Linked DNA regions of Homo sapiens: region 2 is linked to region 1. The links are contacts of gene promoters, found by promoter capture Hi-C in blood cells and fetal thymus (Javierre and others, 2016). All regions are on one chromosome and are shown on one strand. Each heading gives the region's core, a stretch centred on a gene start or on the middle of the fragment in contact. The rest is flanking DNA. Distances are from core to core; before and after follow the strand shown.

Region 1 (5,551 bases), core at 2,091-4,590:
CTGAGCTATATTTTGATTGCATGGAAAATGTACAAATCTCACTTTAATACTGAATATTAAAAATTAACTGGGCGTGGTGGTGCATGCCTGTAGTCCCAGCTACTCGGGAGGCTGAGGCAGGAGAATCGCTTGAACCTGTAAGGTAGAGCAGTGAGCCGAGATCGTATCACTGCACTCCAGCCTGGGGGACAGAGTGAGACTCTGTCTCAAATAACAAAAAAAAATATTGAATATCAGAAAACAAAGAGGAGATCCTGATGGTTTTTACTATAAGCAGATGCGTTTGTTCTGTGGTTTTCAGCATTTTTCCCATATTAAAAGAGTAAAAATACTCACAGCCGCAGCTCTTCAAATGTCTTTACTGAGTAAAGTGGAGAGCTGGGATCCTTCTGTAAAACTTCCACACGGTGACTGGATTCTACTAAGGATTGATGGATTAACTTGTTTAAGAGTGAATTAGCTGCCAAATCCACTAGAAAAGCAAAAATAAAAAAGAGGACATCAAGCTTCCTGAATGACATCAAATAAGTTGCTCTTTCTCTTTCAGTGGTTGTATACCAAGCAATTGCACCTACGCTCATTTTTCCTCTAAAAGAGGGTTCCAGAAAGAATGATATAGCACTGAGGATTCGTTCTTTATGAGGATTCAGTTTCTTACGCTCTGTTACTTCACCATCCTCTAACTTCAAAGTAGCCTAAGTCCATCTCCATGAGACCAAATCCTTGACAGATGGAAGTTCTGAACCCAATCCCTGCATATTCCATTTCAACTTCCTTTAAATAAATACACCTTACTCCTAATTTAGTGTGTCTCCTGATAGTCACTATAAGAAAACAGAAGCAAAGACAGGCCTTTTCCAATTGAGATTATATTATTCACTCACACTATTAAAGTTATAAACGGAAACAGAATGCTAGTAGATACATGCAAATGAATTCATCTCCTACCTACATCTTCTTCATCATCTTCATTGATGTTATTAATAGAACCATCTGGAAAGGATGGAAGAGAAACAATACAAGTAAAGACAAATGCTGAGCACAAATGTAAAGCATGCTATTCAATTTTTTCTTCCTGACTCTTCAGTGTCTACTGGCAAGAAGAGTCATTTCATGGAGGAATGGACGAAACGATTGGGAAGGTAATGGAGAGTGCTGAATGTCACACTAATGAATCCGCGGTGTTTCACTTGGCAGGGACGTGATGAAAGCAAAACAATACTTTTTAATCATTGAGGTCGCTCTGCTTTGCCCTAACAGCACTCACCTATGTTTCGGACTGCAGTACTCTTAATACCCCAAAGGTTCTTCCGGGGTTGGCTGAGGTTTGAAAACTATTGAGAGACACAAATTTCAACCAATATTAGGATGCAAGCCCTCAAGCAGCCCAGTGCTTCCCTACCACAGGGGCTGGGAGGGATTCAGGGAAGGACACCCGGGTATTGCTTCCTTTGCAATATTAGGTAGCAGCAGATTCCTTTCAAGGTTGGGTTTCCTGTATGAGTTACCCTAAAATTGGAGATTTTCTGTATTCCCTGTACATGCAGTTTCTCTTTCCTAGGCCTCTAGTTTAGAGTTGGGCAGTACTTGGGGCTCACGGCACCAACAAGGGGAGGGTGGCTAGGAAAGTGCGCTGGCAAATGGATGGAAGCGAGGTGAGGCTTAATGGGCAAATGGGCAGAGTAGAAAACTCGGGGTCTAGCTGGGACTACCAGCTGCGTTCCCACCCTGGATTTCCAGGGGTCGTCATTTTTGCCCTTTCTAACCAAAGGTCTTGCCTCTCGTGGGGGTGGGGACGGGGTCTCCCTCTGTGGCCCTCTTCCAAACCCTTCCCGCATCTCCCCTCCAGCATCTGACGCCCCACTTCGAACGCTCGCGGGCTCTCCCTCCCCTCCCAGCCGATCTCCCTCTGCGAGTGGGAGCTCCACCCCCGCGGCTGTGGCCCCCCGGCTCGGTGGCGGTTACGTGGCTGTTCAGCCGCTCGCTCTCCGCCGCCCCTGCGTCGCCTCCCCACAGTAACGACGCCATGGCTGCGATTGCTGCTCCCGCCCCCAGCACGTGCTTCCACCACCGGCGCGAGGCGGTGCTGGCCCCATCCGCTGGCCAATGGGCTTCCTTAGGGGGCAGGCGTCCGCGTCCGCGCCCGCGACCACCGCGGTGCGGCGCGCAGGCGCTGGAAGGCTGGGTGGCGCGCGGAAGGGGCGGAGGGCAGAGAGCGGGGCGGGGGGCAGAGAGCGGGGCGGAGGGCAGAGAGCGGGGCGGAGGGCAGAGAGCGGGGCGAAAGGGCGCGGACCGGAGGGCAGAGGGGGCAGCTTCCGCAGAGTGGAGAGCGCCCCCCGCGCCGCCCCGCGGCCCGCCGCTCACACAGCCCTCCAGGCGGGAGCCCCCCGGACTCCCCGCCGCGCTTTACGCCCCGTGTCGGTTTCCCTGGAAATTTCCGCCTCCACATCACAAGATGTCAGAAAGGTTAGCGAATTGGTTAGCAAAGTGGAGACAAAATCTGATGAATTTGATATGACGAATGACCTCGAATGCCACAGTTGCGGAAAGGAAGCAGAACTGTTCAAGCTCTAACTGCTGTTCCTGCCCTAGATACCTGTGATGTTCCACATAGGCTTTTTAAAGCTTTTATTCTGAAATGTGGTCTCTTGTTAAAAACATTACCTTTCGGTATAACCTCTACGTCCTACATGCGTTTGCATAATCCGGTATAGATCCCTGGATCCCTGGTACTAATGATTTAATGACCGCTCAATTTGGACGAAAGAACCAAATTCCACCTCCCCCCCGCCCCCCAGTTTTCTAATTGTAATTTTGAGATTTTGATCAGCATTTCTGGAATTGGGGGCAAAAATACAAAAACCCACACGAAACTGCAGTCATGATCTCTCCGTGGTGCTGAAGCAACGCTCCCCGCTCTGTTCGGTCACTCTCAGGGCACCTAGTCGTTTGTTTTGAGATTATCATATTCATTTCAGCTTTTAATTTGAATTCTAATAGTAAATGTTTTTGTCTCTCAATGGTAACTTTCTTCTCATTTAACTAGGTATAAAATCGAGCCAAGATCTTCAATCTTTTAGTTTTCGTATAAGGATAGCAGAATTTGAAAAATTACCTTTTTTCTATTATTTTAGCGTAGCACTACAATTCCTCCTTTTATTGCTGTCCCGCCACAGGCCCAGATTCTGCCCTGTGGGCGGAGAAACGGTAGCTGGACTAGAAAACCTCAGGTAGATTCTAGCACCAAGCTCGGTTCTCAGAACTACATTTCCCACAAACTTGGACTACACCTCCCATGAGGGCTCGGGCGCCTGCGCAGAAGACGCACAGTGACAGCTTCCTTTCTCGGAAACGCGGCGCGGCCGGCTGCCGGAAAGTAAGTGTGGGATTTTTGGAGTGGGTTACTTTCTGGGTTCCACAGGGGAAGGGACAAATGGACACACTGCTGAACGGTTGTCTGTTGTCTTCTTTTTGCCCTCTTTCACATACTTTGGTCTTTTCAGGAAAGCATTGCCGTATGGAAATGAGACCTCGCTTAAGACCATGTATTTTTCTTTTGTGCCTGGTACTTTCTGGAGCTCTCGGTGGAAACTCGCCGCAGTAGGGTCGTCTTTAATTCCGTTGTGACGGGAGCTTCAGTGGTACTTGTACTGTGGAGTACAAAAGTGCTCTGCTGCCCCACTTAGAATTGGGTGCTCATAAAACAGTAGAAGTTGAGAACCCAGGAGTATGTGGGAGGCTGTGGCAGCAATTTTCAAATTATTTTGGGGATTGCCTTACATACAGACCACGATTGCTTTCTAGTGATCATAGTGCGTGTCTGCTAATCCTTTGGACAGTACTCCCTCTTCTTCCCTTTGGATTAATATAAAGTTTATCAAGAGGAATGCTATTTATGTGTTAACCCACTGGTTCCTGAGATTAGGACTTTTTTTTTTTTTTTTTTAAGACTGTCGCCCAGGCTGAGTGAAGTGGCGTGATCACTGCTCACTGCAGCCTCTACCTCCTGGGCTCAAGCGATCCTTCCACCTCAGCCTCCAACTAGCTGGGACTGCAGGCGTGCGCCATCTTGGCAGCCTAGTTTTTAATTTTTTAATTAACACACGGTCTCGCTGTGTTGCCCAGGTTGGTCTCGAACTCCTGACTTCGAGCGACCCCCCCTCCCCCCCGCCACCACCCCGTCTTGGCCTCTCAAAATGTTGGGATGACAGGCGTGAGCCACGGCGCCTGGCCCAATGTATGGAACATCTGGTGATGGCCGTTTTAGTTTGTAATTGGTGCTTAGGGGACACACGAATTCCCTCTCTGTGGTTACTTCGCAGCCCTGGCCAGGGTGTTACTTTAAACGTCTGCTTGGGAACTCCTGCACTTCACCCTGAATTAGGGTAAGGTGTGCTGGAAAAAGCACTGTAGTGTACCAAGTCCTGTTTTTGCCACAAATCTGCCTTATGACCAACTAGACTCACTCCCTGGCCTAGTTCTTTAGTTAGCACGGGAGTTGAACTTTGGAGACTTTGGTAATGTTGGACTTTGAGATCCAAATAATCACTGGAGTGTTTTGCATGTTAAAATCACCATGTAATTTTTGACCTCATAAAAAGTCGAGGTATAAATACAAATTACCTTTAATCCCACTACTCGTTAGGTTTTGATCTTTCCCTGTGTGTACTGAGATCATCCTGTATAGTTTATGATACATTCATGTCACTTAATTTCACCTTCCCATATTACTTTCCCAAGATTCCCAATGACTATTTAATATTCTAATGTCTTTAAAGACATTTACTATTCCACTGTTGGTGGACAGTTTGCAGTTTCTACTTTTTTGCGGTGAGTATATCCTACATGTACCTGAGTCATTGATTACTTCTTTTCCAGACAAATGCCTAACAAATAGAACTGGGTGAATGTGTGAATTATGTGGCTTTAAATGTTACAGGGAAAATGATTTTCGCAGATAGTAACGGTCAAGGTCATTCACCTTTATGTTAGAACTTTTTCTCTGTGAACAAGCAAACTGTACTATCATTCTTCTGGCCTCTGGTGTTAAAACTGACAACTTTCAGATTTTAGATGGTCCCCGTTGGGTCAGAAATATCAAGAACAGATAAATTACAATTTAAGGTGAGCAGAATTCCTATTTTGATCTGCACCCAAACAGGCTAGGTTCATATTGGTATTTATGTTTGCATCTGATTCCAGATGTTACTAGTTTGAATTTCTACTGGAGTAGGAATACCCTTCCAAATGATGCATAATTCCTACAAAAATCTCAGGGGCAAATTATAAAAAGAATGGTATTCCAGAAATAACAGCTGGCAGGCAAAATATTAATGAAATAATTCTGAAATAAAACAAGTTTGAATCCTGTATGTTATATGGTACTGTTTTGGGGCATTTGTTAGAAAGTATTTTAAAGCTACTTGGATTTGTTGTACACCTTTAGTAATGAGGCTATCCATGTTGTTAACCTCTCCCATCCTTTAGGACTATGTAAAAGGCAGGTTTTTGTTCCTTCTTTTTTTTTTTTTTTTTTTGAGACGGAGTCTCG
Region 2 (5,610 bases), core at 2,666-5,165, 180 kb before region 1:
ACAGGCATGCACCACCATGACCAGCTATTTTTTTATTTTTATTTTTTGTAGAGATGGGTCTTACTAGATAATCATAGTTTCTTTTACTGTGCCTTTACTACATATCAGAAACAGGGCCAGCATTTTGCATGCATTATCTCTAACTCTCCTAACAGCCTGTAAGGAAGTTGTTACTATCTTCTTTTAACAAATGACAGAACAGAAAGGTTAAATGATTTTGCTAAGGCCACACAGCCAGAAGGTGGAGGTTATAAGGCTCATACCCTTCCCATTAAAGCAGAATACCTTAGGCTTCATACTTGGGTTAGGTTCATAGTATCAGTGACCAGAATGCCCCTTACCCCAACTTTTTCAAATACCGGTGGTCTCAACCAGGTTTTGGAGAGAAACCGGACAACAGCCAGTGCAAGGTTCAGCGCCTCGATAACAGTCCAACGCTCAGAAACTCTACTCTAACTGGAGGAAGACCCTCCAACTTCTTTTTGCTTTCTTCTTACTCACCTTTTAGGGGCAGCATTTAATGATATGGAATATTCTTTCTGTTACAGGAATAAAGTGAAGTAATTTGTATTTAATAAAATTGCGCACGCTCTCTTTTAACCCATTTTTTTCCCCAGGTCGATATTTTTACATGGGGAGCAATTGGAGTTTTCAAGCTCAGCCACTCCATTATTGATCATTGATTTACTATCTGTGGTTGTGAACGAATCTGTCTAAACCAATAGAAGATTGAGGGGGTTTTTTTGTTTTGTTTTTTGTTTGTTTTTCTTTTTTTTGAGACAGAGTTTTGCTCTTGTTGCCCAGGCTGGAGTGCATTGGTGCAATCTCGGCTCACCGCAACCTCTGCCTCCCAGGTTCAAGTGATTCTCCTGCCTCAGCCTCTCGAGTAGCTGGGATTACAGGCATGCACCACCACGCCCGGCTAATTTTTCTATTTTTAGTAGAGACGGGGTTTCTTCATGTTGGCTAGGCTGATCTCGAACTCCTAACCTCAAGTGATCTGCCCGCCTCGGCCTCCCAAAGTGCTGGGATTACAGGCATGAGCCACTGCACCCGGCCAGATTGAGGTTTTTTCCTCACCTCTCGTTGGCCTTGACAAAGGGGCCAGGAAGTGGACCACATATGAAGAGTATAGATCCCTAGTTGCTGATGTACATATAAAACACGCATTTTGATACTGCCATGAAAATCAAAGTCCACAGGAAGTATTTCCTGGCAGAAATGTCGTTATAAACATTTTCCAAATTTTTAAATTATAAAAGTATTATAAAAACTCTAAACCAGAATGTCATTCTTTTTCTTTTTTTTTTTTTAGATGGAGGCTCACTCTGTCGCCCAGGCTGGAGTGTGGTGGCGCGATCTTGGCTCGCTGCAACCTCTGTGTCCTGGGGCTGCTCCTGCTAGGGTGTCACCATGGGTCCCCAAGCTGATGTGATGCTGTCAGCATCCTGTCGGCACCTCCTTGGCCTGTACCATTTCGGGGCATGCTGGCTGACATTCCGACTGCCAGCTTCTATATCACTTGCCTGAGGCCTTTCTTTGCCTGCTGCAGCCTGCTTTGCCCACATATGTGGTAAACCAGACACACCGGGGAATTCATGCTCCTAGAGCAGCCCTCAACCATTGATTGATGGGAGTTGGTATATATGCCCCAGCTCCCTCCCCGCCTCAGGTAGGATGATTCAGAGGCTGTTCAACACTCCCAGAATTCCTCAGTGGGGATGAGCTTTAATTCCCTTAGTAGGAACTAGCTTGGTAACACACCTTTTTGGGGGCCTTTTTTCCTTTCCTGTCTCACTTGCCCACTCTCCTACTAGTGTTTACTGGGATCAAACAAATGACTTGTATTTGAATCCCTTTCTCCAGGTCTGCTTCTAGGGGAACCCAAACTAAAATGGATGGGTTATGCTTAGATCAAACTAAAGTGATACAAGACCATTCTTTTGGGCCATTTTATCTTGTACCCTCATCAACGGAGTCTTATTACTGTAGGGTGTCAACTAAAGACATTGCCAATCCTGTTACTCAGCACTGCCTATACGAATTTCATTGTGAGAAATTTCTTCTAAAACTTACAGCTGGAAAAAATTTTGCTTAGCCTGACACGCTGGTATATTTCCTTCATTCTGGTAAAGAGAATTAGATTCCAGACATCTGTCTGTCTGTCTCCTTTTTTTCCTCTCTCTTTTCCTCTCCAGATTTGCCTTCAGGGAAGCTCAGAAGCCAATCTGGAGTCCAATAACAGCAAATATGCAGGACTTTATCCCCCGTGTATGTGTGTTTCTCTTCCCTAGTCTTGATTTCATTTCGTGTATATTTTCTGTGATCCTAGTTATTCATTCTTATTTGGACTTACTCCTGCTTTAGTGCATGCATCTCTTTGCAAGCCGCCAATACTCTGTGGAACTAGTGGCCATGTGAATAAGGTGTTTAAGAAGCACTTCTTTAATGAATTATATTTGGATGCTAACTGTGCAAAGATATTGTTATGAAACTAGAGAAGTATGAGTCTCCCCTCCAGAGCACCTTCTCACCTTGTAGGACAGTGCTTTTTCAACTCTCTGGTTTCTGTAATTGTCTCCTTGGATGAAATCTTACATGGAAGATATGGCAAGTCAATAAAAAGAAGCTGTTCTGGTTGAGATGTGTGAGTGAGGGGATAGGAAATCCTTTCACTCAGCTTGGGAATCCTCTTCCGCTACACCCCCTACACCCTGTCTTTTGGTCCCCCAGGCACCAGCTTCTAAACTTGAGGTCTTTGTAGAGCACTGGTTGACAAACAGCTTTAGAGACACAAGCAGGGTGTGGGCCTTTGATGCCAGGGCAGTGCTGGGGACAGCAGCTGCGCACGGAGCTGTTCTGCCGCCACCCAGGAAAGGGGGCGCTCACTGCTGCAGGCTGTCTACCCACCGGACAGGGCTGTTCTCCCCAAGTTTGCCTTATCACAGGCGCTGACCTATAGGTCAAGAAGCAGCCTCGGCTGGGCACGGTGACTCACGCCTGTAATCCCAGCACTTTGGAAGGCCGAGGTGGGCGGATCACAAGGTCAGGAGTTCGAGACCATCCTGGCTAACATGGGGAAACCCTGTCTCTACTAAAAACACAAAAATTAGCTGGGCGTGGTGGCGTGTGCCTGTAGTCCCAGCTACTCAGGAGGCTAAGGCAGGAGAATCACTTGAACCCAGGAGGCAGAGGTTGCTGTGAGCCAAGATCATGCCACTGCACTCCAGCCGGGCAACAGAATGAGACTCTGTCTCAAAAAAAAAAGAAGCAGCCTCAGGGCAGTTTCCTCCCCAGCCCACTCTGTGTCACTCCATAGCTCGCTGGGCCCTCTTCTGGCCCTCTTGACACCTCCTCAAGTCCCCTCCTCAAGCCTGGTGCGGATGGGCAGGAGCAGGCTGGGACAGAGGTGAAGATCCAGGGGCTGGCTCGGCAGGAGAGGCAGGTGTGTGAGGAGACAGACCTCTGGCTCTGCCTCTTTTTCTGGAAGCTATCGGTTCTAAGCTTAGACACCAATGCACCCCCCACCCCCAGCCCGCACTGTTTGTCTAATAAGGAAACCTTTTTGACCTAGCCAGTTAAAAGTCCCGGCCCTTCACCTCATTACTGCCAAGGCCAGAACTAAAGAGGTGAAAGCTGGCAGCCTTGGGCTGCCTTCAACTTGGCAACTGGCCCTCAGGGTCTGTGTCTCGAAGTCCCAGCCTTTCAATAGGGCTGTGTTTTCAATCCTGCTTACACAAAGCCGCACGGTCTCCCTCCTGGGCCTGAGCGCGCCATTCTCATCTTTCTATGGGGGATTAAGGGCTGCTCTCTTGTTTGAGTGTCACTCTGCCTTTGAACCACTGTGGCTTCATCTGGTTTCAGGCTCAGCTTCCTGCCAGGAAGTGGATTTACCTCTGATTTGCTGTTACTCTCTCTGCAGGATGATGCTGAGGGGAGTGAGTTCCTTTCTCCCCAGACACCACCACCAGCTCCCCGCTTCCACTCCCCTCCACGGCTCTCCAGCTTGAGCCCTTGACATAGCTCCCAGCTCCCTCCTCTTCTGGTGGAATTCTCCTCTCACACAGGGAAAGCGGAGACTCTAAAGATAGGGGAGCCCCAGGCTGGCTCACTGGGGTTGCGGGGGAGGTTGGAGGTGAGGGAGCTGGAGCTGGAGCTGCCTGAGAGACTGAATGTGCACCTGCTGGGGCTGTGGAGGAAGGTCCTGGATTGAGTCAGGGCTGCTTTGGGTCTCTCTGGGGTGGCAGCCTGGAGCTATTCTCTCTCTTCCTGAAAACTCCAGAAAAGAGTTGAGACAGATGCTTCTTCCCTGGATGCTAAGCTTAGACTGGAAACCAGATCTCTTGAATACAAACCTAGAGACATTTTTACCTTCTCCGTGGAGAGTGTGTGTGTGTGTGTGTGTGTGCGTGTAAGAGATAGATAGAGAGACAGAGAGAAAGAGAGAGAGACAGAGGTAGGAAGGAGAACAAAAGTCAGGTGATTTTAGGTACACTGACATCCAGGCAGAGGAAGAAGATTCTTCCTGGAGGGGAGCCAGTTGCTCTACTCTAACAGAGATCAAGAGAAATATCAAAGTATAATTAGGTCGGCGTCGGACTCCATGTGCTGAAAGCAGTAGTTCGGTGGCCCACAAAATAACCTAGGTTTTATTAATGATTGGGGGAGGGTGAGTTGTGGTGGTGAGAATCCACAGTGGCCCCTATTTCTGGAAATGCAGCTCAGGGGTCTGTGGGTGGAGTTGTTCCTGGATTCTTTCTAGATCTCAGGGGAGAGAAGCTAAAGAGCAGGGTGATCTTGCCCTGGGAGAGAGATACCATCTCTGGATGAAGACAGGTGTGTTTTCTTGTTTGCTTGTTTTGTTTTATGTGCCATCCTCCTACATTACCAGTTAGAAGAGAAAACTGCACTCCAAAACTGGGAGTGAAGAGTCTGAGGGGCACTGAGACTGAGCCAGGTGCGCATGGGTGTAGCGGGGACTGATGGAGAAAGGCTCCAAACATTCTTACGGGAGGAGGAGGATGGTGTAATACAGCTAAATGCCAATGGCAAAAGAGCTGAAAGGGGGGTGTAGCTCAAGCGGACAGAGGCAAAGAGAGAGCCCTTGGCCGGCGCCTGCAAACACCACCCTCCAGGGCCTGGCCCTCCCCTGTGTGCCCTGTTGTGGGCCTCAAAGGGTGCTGGCCCAGGCCCTGTCTGCCATTCCCTTCACAAAGCCGGGGTTGTGTTCTTGGCAGGGCTGGGCCTCCCCGCCATTGAGGTCCCGGCTGGGGCTGCCTGCCCTGGGAGCCTCCCTTCCCAGCCAGAGGCCCTCGATTTGTCCAAGTGCCAATACCTAATGAGGAGCTCATTTGAATCCATGCAAAGTACCAGGGAGCAAGGAGGCATGCTAATTAAAGTGATTGCTGTTCTTTAATTAAGCAATAATTCCCCCAAGGAGGGCATTATCATGCAAATAGAGCCCTCTTGGGTGAGGTAAGGGCTTTGGGCAACAGCTGAGGTCTGTTAATAAGGCCCCTGGGCATCGGAGGGCAGGCATCCAGAATGCCCCATTGAGCTGGGTGATAGAGCAAGGGAAATAATCACCCCTGCGCCGCACTGCCTTTTGTC

What was found. Contacts are between HindIII fragments. The CHiCAGO score rates a contact against its expected background, and 5 or more counts as called.
Region 2: a fragment that was not itself captured here is called in contact with the fragment with the promoter of PUS3 in region 1 in 1 of 17 cell types (non-activated CD4 T cells); the score reaches 5.6 in non-activated CD4 T cells.

Annotation. Positions count from the first base shown.
Region 1 is chr11:125,900,995-125,906,545 of GRCh38, reverse strand. PUS3 (pseudouridine synthase 3) reads left to right here and starts at 3,340. Exons shown (of 4, transcript NM_031307.4): 1 at 3,340-3,376. DDX25 (DEAD-box helicase 25) reads right to left here and starts at 2,038. Exons shown (of 12, transcript NM_013264.5): 1 at 1,966-2,038; 2 at 1,268-1,334; 3 at 949-993; 4 at 337-472. The coding sequence starts at 2,028. The HindIII fragment of the contact is 3,679 bases long and covers 2,628-5,551 here.
Region 2 is chr11:126,082,455-126,088,064 of GRCh38, reverse strand. No RefSeq gene overlaps it. Among named protein-coding and RNA genes, the nearest start is that of CDON, 22 kb to the right of the region's middle. The HindIII fragment of the contact is 817 bases long and covers 3,507-4,323 here.